2 separate regions of the Homo sapiens genome follow, and region 1 is linked to region 2. The links are contacts of gene promoters, found by promoter capture Hi-C in blood cells and fetal thymus (Javierre and others, 2016). All regions are on one chromosome and are shown on one strand. The core of a region is centred on a gene start or on the middle of the fragment in contact, and the rest is flanking DNA. Distances in the headings are between cores, read along the strand shown.

Region 1 (4,125 bases), core at 1,366-3,865, 220 kb before region 2:
AAAGTCCCCTTGCTAATTATACAGCACTTTCAAGAATCAACACTTGTGCTATTTTCTAACTAATTCATTAGTTTGATATAAGTGTATATGTGTGACCTAATATATGCACATTGTAATATTTTGGTACTGCAGAATTTTGTACACTCAGGCTGCATTCATGTGACATAGACATTAGGTAACTTTGCTGGGCCTATCAGAAACAGAGGGACTGAAAGGGCAGAGACTTAATGAGAAGTATAGCTGTTTCATCACAAAACTGGTGATGCGTGATTCAGACAGGCTCAAACTTAGTTGGAAATGTAGAAAAACAGAGTTGCCAAAGCTATACTTTGTCTTTGGAGTAAAAGAACATTTTCTGAGTACGCACTTTTTAGAAACACCATCAGATAAGAATACTAACAGTCTTTTTTTTTTTTTTTTTTTTAGATTTATAAAGGTTAGCACTTAGTCACAAGAAATAAAGCTTTTTAAAAAATTTTAATTTACTTTATATGTAGAAAATATCCTTTCACTATCTTAGTTGCTTATACAGGTTGAGTATTCCTTATCTGAAATGCTGGGTACCAAAAGTGTTTTGGATTTTTGAGTTTATTTGGATTTTGTAATATTTGCATTATACCAGTTGAGCATCCTGTATCCAAAAATCTAAACTCTTTCAATGAGCATTTCCTTTGATGTCATGTCAATGCTCAGAAAGTTTCCGATTTTGGAGCATTCTGGATTTCAGATTTTTGGATTTGAAATGTTCAACCTGTATTTATATTATTAACTAAACTAAGGAGAAACAAATTAGAAAAGTAACAAATCTATTCAAAGAATATAGTCTCTCCTTTTTCTGCAGCTTCCAAATGGTAGCTTGCTAAATGAATTACTGTATATTATGCCAAATAATTTTTTTAAATGAATGTCAATTTAATAGTTCCCATTAGAGAAATCTGAGTCTGTGAAGCATTCATTATGCCTTTTACTGTCAGGTATTTGTGAAGTGTTTTAAACTAGAATGAAAAGGTGGGTGAGAATGAGATTACTGCGAACAAACAGAAAGTTAAAACTAACGGCCTATTTAAAAGTCGCTTGAACTTGCCCAGGTTATCTAGCTCTGAAGATTAAATGTATTTCACACCCTCTTAATAGATGCCTGTCCTGCACTTTTACATACTGGTGTAAGAGAGTAATATGCTGTAGTCATATGCTTACTGCTTTATAATTTAGTGATAGAATACAACGTTAAAAGCTATGGTAAGGAGAAACAAGAGGGAAACGACAGAGATAAGCTTTCATTACTGTACAATTAAAGAGACAAAAATCCAGTTTAAGACTTTAATGGTAAAAACTACTATTAAAACTTGTTGGACACCAAACAACAATATCCTGGCTAATATTTTTCTTTCTTTCTACATTACTACAGAAAAGACTAAAAAACCATTGTCTTAATAAAGCAGAAATTTAATCACCATAAATTAAGAAATGTTCATAATTTGGGTAAATGAGCCTCCACATACATCAAATACTCTCTATTCTTCATAACTCACGTCAGCATTCTTTTTAGGAGATGGGCAAATAAGAAAAACAAGCTCTTCAAACCGACCTTTTGAAAACAGAGTTTGTGCCTGAAAACAGCATCTGTGCCTTTTCCATTTTCAAAAACACACCTCTTACTTTTCAGGAGAAATATAATAGGCAAATTTAATAGATGGCATTTAAAATCTTACTGCAAATCAGGAGAGCAAAAATATGTCTACTCTATGACTACTGTTTTTAAGTCAAGAAACAAACTGAAACAATGAATTTCCACATGCAAATAATTATAAATAGCAGTTTTATGAAGCTCATCAAGTAATTCATTCTTTTCTATTCATTCTACATGCCCTTAAAAATCACATTATTGAATAATGTTTGGTTGTGAACATATTTAGAAATGTATAATATTTTTAACAGCAAGCAAGCTGCGGTTAGGATGAATGTTTCTAAATATAATAACATTTGTAAAGTGCTTTGAACTCAAGTATTGAAAATAGAAAAGAAAAAACAACTCAGAACAACTCTCTGTGATGAAACAAGGATTACAGAAAAACATAAAAACTGCCCCATTTAAATCAAGCAGAATCTGTTCTTCAGAACACTTAAAAAGAAAACTTTAGGCCGGGTGTGGTGGCTCACGCCTGTAATCCCAGCACTTTGGGAGGCCAAGGCAGGCGGATCACAAGGTCAGGAGATCGAGACCATCCCGGCTAACATGGTGAAACCCCGTCTCTACCAAAAAATACAAAAAATTAGCTGGGCATGGTGGCGGGTGCCTGTAGTCCCAGCTACTCAGGAGGCTGAGGCAGGAGAATGGCGTTAACCTGGGAGGCGGAGTATGCAGTGAGCCGAGATGGGGCCACTGCACTCCAGCCTGGACAACAGAGCGAGACTCTGTCTCAAAAAAAAAAAGAAAACTTTACCCCTAGCTGTTTCACTTATAAGAACACATGTCTTCTATAACCAGAAAGGCTAAAGTCAAGATAAAAAGAAAGGTTTTACCAAAATTTTAAAAGTATTTCTTTAATTATATAAGACTTTGGAAAATATCTACTAGAGTAGAAAGAAAGAACCCTAAATTCCTCCCCCTTTGGTAAATTCCTATGCATGTCTAACAAAATAATGATTATATACTACCTTGATCTAAAAAAATAGCATTTCTCTATCATAAAAAATCTGTCAACATAATTTAATCAGCGCATAATAGTACATCAATGTGCCAAAATTCAGAAACAGTGATTAAATTCTTAATCCTTTCCACACCTTGTCCACTTTCTCATTTTTTATCACCTTCATAAACTTCATCAGTTTCTATTTTACTATTATTTCAAAGTCTCCACTCCTTAAACAGAAAATACGGTAGAGTTGAAATTTAGAATCTTCTCTTTGGACTGGGTTATTTATATATTTTACTAACCTCACTATGACTAAATTTGGGTTCTGCTCAGTTGAATGGAACATGTGATCAAAACTAAACACCAAGTTCCCTGAAGTCCAAAATAAAGACTGACTCAATGCTTCCAATTATTTACTGCTACCACCTCCCCCAAAGTCCTTAAATGGGTTCTATTTAACCCTTATAGGCACTGTGCTAAGTATTTTATATGCATTGTCTTGAATCTCATAAAGATTCATGTCGTTATTATCCTTATTTTTTAAGTGAAGTCATGAAATTTATACAACTTCATTCAATTAGTGGCTAGAATTTGACCCCAGTTATGGTTAGGTATTCCTGTTTTGTAAACATTAAAATGAGAAATATAAAAGTTATTTTTCATTAAATTAACATTTTAATAATTACAGTTATTACTCTCTTAGAAAGAATAAGCCTATAATTAAACTTAGATAATTCTTTAGATTGTTTAATCAAAGGCATTATTATATCTTTCACTCTCAGTACCTGAATACAACTAGAAATGCTATTGCCCAAGTTTAATCATTGTTTGTAAAGGTAAAATTGGACTCATTGGCTAAGAGTTGCAAAACCAGTGACTTGGAATGCAATACTTAATTTTTTTTGTTGTCGCTTCAGCTGGTTAATGACTATATCTTCTGCTTCCCTAGTCTGCAAGTCACAGAGAAAGTGTGGTTGTTCCTCATGTGGAGAAGAGAAGGCTGAGAATGAGTGGTTTCATGATTTCTGTGAGTTCACACAACTGCGGCTTTGAAACAAGGTCTTCTGACTCAAGGCTTTTTCTACCACCACTGCTCTTGCATGTTAGAGGCAAGGTAATATGGAATAAGACATCTTCTATGTGTAAATAACTATGCTAGATGTTCTTAAAGTTTGGTAGACACGTTGTTCAATAATTTTATGATGGAAAAAAATTAAAACTTTACACTAAATGGTAAACTGAAATTTATACATTTGAGCTACTCTCTATTGACCAGTATGAGTATTTAGAGAGAATTTGGCAAACTGTTTTCAAAGCTTATATGAAATGAAAGTCTGGCAGGATGAAAAGTTTGAGGGAAAAATCTAATCATTCAAAATGTATTTTACTACATTTATATTAAGGAAAACCTTCAATATGACAGAGAATTTCAAATTTTTAGATGCCAGAAGACAGATTCGATCATCTTTAGAGAAGAATCTTATTCCAT
Region 2 (3,767 bases), core at 327-2,826:
TATTTAGTAGAGACGGGGGTTTCACTATATTGGTCAGGCTGGTCTCGAACTCCTGACCTCAGGTGATCTACCCACGTCGGCCTCCCAAAGTGCTGGGATTATAGGCATGAGCCACCGCGCCCGGCTGTGCATATGTTTTTAATACACAGTTAATTTACGATAAAATAGCTATTTCACTAGCCTTTCTTTATAATTTACATAAACCATTCTAAAATGAAAACGAAATACATGACTGCAGATGCAGGCTCATTTCAACTTTAGGATTAGAGGTAATTCCGAACCATTACATACACAGCACTGGATCTGCAACACACTTCACCTTAGTTCGCAGTTTAACCACGGGTGTCCAGTGGAAATTACAATCCCGGTGACTACACTGCTTTAAATGTTTCCTAAGGTTTCAACGAGTGCAACAGTAACTTCCTATCCCAGACAGCGTCTTACTGTTATTACTAAAACAGCTGTCAGCTAAGCTTCGCATACCTCTTTGTACAACCGTTTATTCAACGCTTTGGGATCTGTAAGGATGCGTCACTCCACATCACTCCTCAAAACGAGATCTAAGAACCTGACGTGCTCCAGGGGTCTTGAAGCATCACAAGTGGGTACTTGAAAAACGATGACGGGAACTGCCTGTCCAATGCGGCAAGGTTATTTTACACTGGCATTTAAGACAGAACTGTAGAGTGGCTGCTCTTTCCCCGGACACTACTAAAGCAGCAATTTCCCCTTCTTGATTTCATCCACCTCTCCCAGGACCCGGGTACCTCCGACGCTCCCGGCCCGAGCGGCCGCGGCAGACTCCCCGGCGTCGGCGCACGCTCGGCGGCTGGCGGCGGGAACGCGCGGCGGGCCGGGCGCGCCCCCGCCCCCGCGGGTCCGACCGCCGCACGCCAGCGGCGCCCTCTCGGCCGCGCACACTCACACTCGCACGCACACGCTCCTCCGGCCCCGCCATGTTCCGGGAGGCGGCGGCAGCCCAGCCCCGCCAGCCGCGGTGAGGGGCGCCCGCGACGAGGCCAGCTCGCGGCCCTCCGCCCGGCCCCCGCCCCGCCCCGCGCAGCGCCCCCGCCCAGTTGGCGGCTCCCACCTGCGCCGCGGCTCCTCGCGACGCCGGGAGGGGCGGCGGCGGGCGGGGCCCCGGCGGACCCGCGCCGGGGGGCACTAACGGCCTGTCACTGTCAGGCGAGCTACGGCTCGGGCCAGGCTGGGCGGGCGGCGCGTCGGGACCGGGGGGGGCGGGCAGGGCGCGTCCCCTACCTTGCTCTGGGGAGGGGGAACGGGAGCAGCGCAGAACTGAGGGGATCTCCTCCCTGGCGCCGGGGACAAGCTCGAAACCGCGCCCCTCCTTCCTCCTTTCCTGTCGCCACGCCCCCCTCACCCGTACGGACCCGAGGCAAGGCCGGCGCAGGAGGCTTCACCCCCGGAACGAGTGCTTCGGCGTAGCCGTCGCTGTCGTTGTCTTCGTCGCCGCTGCAGCCGCCTGTAAAGCCGCCGGAGCCGGGCTTGAAAACATCTCCGGTCTCGGTCCGTCTCTCACCACAGCCTCCTCGCTCCCAGGACAGCGTCGCCCCGCGATTGGCTGCGACGCGAGCACGTGACACCCGCGGACACGTGACTACCGCGGGCACGGGACGGGCGGCGTGACCGCCCCGCCCCCCGGCGCCCGCCCCTCCTGCTGCTCAGCCAGGCTCCGCGAGCCGCAGGGCGGGGAAGCGGGACGTACCAAGCGGCAGGCGGCGGAGGGGTGCGGGCCGGAACTCCGCCCTTCGTGCTGGTCGGTCTCCACGCCCCACTCGGACTAGTGTCACCGCCTCCCCGCCGCAGACACTATCCGACAAAGGAGGGGGAATCAAAGGCTGGGCGAAGAGGCAGGGCAGGCGCCGGTGACGCTGCTGGGCAAGCGGGCTCTGCAGTAGCATTTGTGGCGACCGTGGCAGTGGCTGTGACTGGAAGCTTCTGGAAATGGCGGCGATGAGGACCCCCACATAGGGTATTCACCTGTTATTTTTACACGGGGTGGGTGGACGAGCGTGATCCAACTCAGGCAAAATGACGCTGCGACCGCAGCCCGAGGACTAGGCGAAGTTCCCCCGCTAAGCCGGCGGCGGCCGTCTGGCCCCGCACCAGGCCGGAGAAGCTGCACCTACGCCCAGAGCCCGCGGCCCCCCGCCTCAGGTGGGGCCCTGGGCCCCGCCCCGAAAGCGCGGTAGCGTGCACCTGCCCTGGCACCAGGGGGTCTAGAGCGCGTCCCCTCCCAGCCACGCCTTCCAGTGGCCTTTTTAAAGAGGAATTCAGTGCACCCTCCCACACGTAGTGTTGGGGATTTGAGAGGGAGCTGCTCAGGTACTAGGAAGGGTGCCGGAGGAAAATTGACCGTCGCAGCGTGGCAGCAGCGTGTACTCACTCCCTTCTGGGCGCGTTATTTACGTAGAGGTTAATCTGCAACAACAGCGTCTGTTTATGACTTAGTGCATGCAGTTACAAGTTTATGTTACACTGTCCTTTAACGTCTTGATGAACTGAGGGTTCAGGTGTGATCACAGCAGATGAAGTGACATTCAGACCTGACAGGGACGGCGAGGTCCCATCAAATTACTATGTAAAGCATAAACCTGCATTAAAGATCAGGAGTTTTTCCTTTCCTGGGTTCCTGATTTCTCCCACCTACAAATCTTTAGGGTCAACAAGACTAGAAAAAGAGCACCTTATGGCTAGAGGTGGAATAGTGTTACATTTAACTTGGTTATTTATGATGTGAAATACAAAGAAAAAAACAGTCGCCTATGAGAAAGTCAGGAGAGCTCCAGGGTAGGACATTTTCATTGTTACTTTTTTGTGCCACTTGGAAAATTAACTGTTGTTTACCTTCTCTCAATTAAAAAAAAAATCTTAAAGACATACTTAAAAATAATCGTTATAGCCGAGCGCAGTGGCTCACGCCTGTAATCCCAGCAATTTGGGAGGCTCAGGCGGGCAGATGGCTTGAGCCCAGGAGTTTGAGACCAGCCAGGCAACATAGTAAGACCCTGTCTCTAAAAAAATATATGAAAATTAACCAGGCTGGTGGCGCCTGCCTGTGCTCCCAGCTGCTCAGGAGGCTGAGGCCAGGGTATTGCAGTGAACCAAGATCACACCACTGCACTCCAGCCTGGGGACACAGCCTGTCTCAAAAAAAAAAAGCATAATTACTAGTGAATAGTCTGTTTCAAGTACAGGTGACTTTGAGAAATCGAGGATTAGATTAATATAAATTATTCATGCATTAAAGCTGGCTAATGCAAAACTAATGTACTACAGCTAATTTCTTAAATACACAAAAGGGTTTATCCTTTTTTCTAAGTTGTAATATCCATACCACTGCAGAGTACATAATCATACTTCCAATCCCTTCACCCAATTATTTTTTGTATACTTGCAGTGTCAGAATAGCTAAGGATAATGTCAAGTGTTTTGGACCTTTCTTTTTTAAAAATGGTAATGCTTAAGCCGGGCGTGGTGGCTCACGCCTGTAATGCTTGCAGTGAGCCGAGATCCCACCACTGCACTCCAGCTTGGGAGACAGCGAGACTCCGTCTCAAAAAAAAAAAAAAAAAAAAAAAGGCTTCTAGAGACAACTACCATATCCTCCTTAAACCTACAGTGTGCTTGAGGTCTTACCAGTTGGAAATACAGTAACAATTATGTGTTTTAAATAATGTTTAAAGGGAGCACTGACAAAGTTTATAGAAAGATCATGTTAACTTAAAACTTGGCTGTGGCTAAAG

The links. Contacts are between HindIII fragments. The CHiCAGO score rates a contact against its expected background, and 5 or more counts as called.
Region 1: a contact is called between a fragment that was not itself captured here and the fragment with the promoter of ANKRD12 in region 2, in 2 of 17 cell types (megakaryocytes and M2 macrophages). The highest score is 5.0, in megakaryocytes.

Annotation. Positions count from the first base shown.
Region 1 is chr18:9,353,271-9,357,395 of GRCh38, reverse strand. The region is part of intron 2 of TWSG1 (twisted gastrulation BMP signaling modulator 1); the gene reads right to left. Among named protein-coding and RNA genes, the nearest start is that of TWSG1, 21 kb to the right of the region's middle. The HindIII fragment of the contact is 2,678 bases long and covers 1,277-3,954 here.
Region 2 is chr18:9,134,590-9,138,356 of GRCh38, reverse strand. ANKRD12 (ankyrin repeat domain 12) reads right to left here and starts at 1,576. Exons shown (of 13, transcript NM_015208.5): 1 at 1,392-1,576. It overlaps NDUFV2-AS1 (NDUFV2 antisense RNA 1), which reads left to right and starts at 1,637. Exons shown (of 3, transcript NR_110772.1): 1 at 1,637-1,993. RefSeq lists silencers at 809-858, 899-1,298, 1,509-1,858, 2,209-2,298, 2,301-2,474 and enhancers at 1,429-1,478, 1,969-2,018. The HindIII fragment of the contact is 1,483 bases long and covers 476-1,958 here.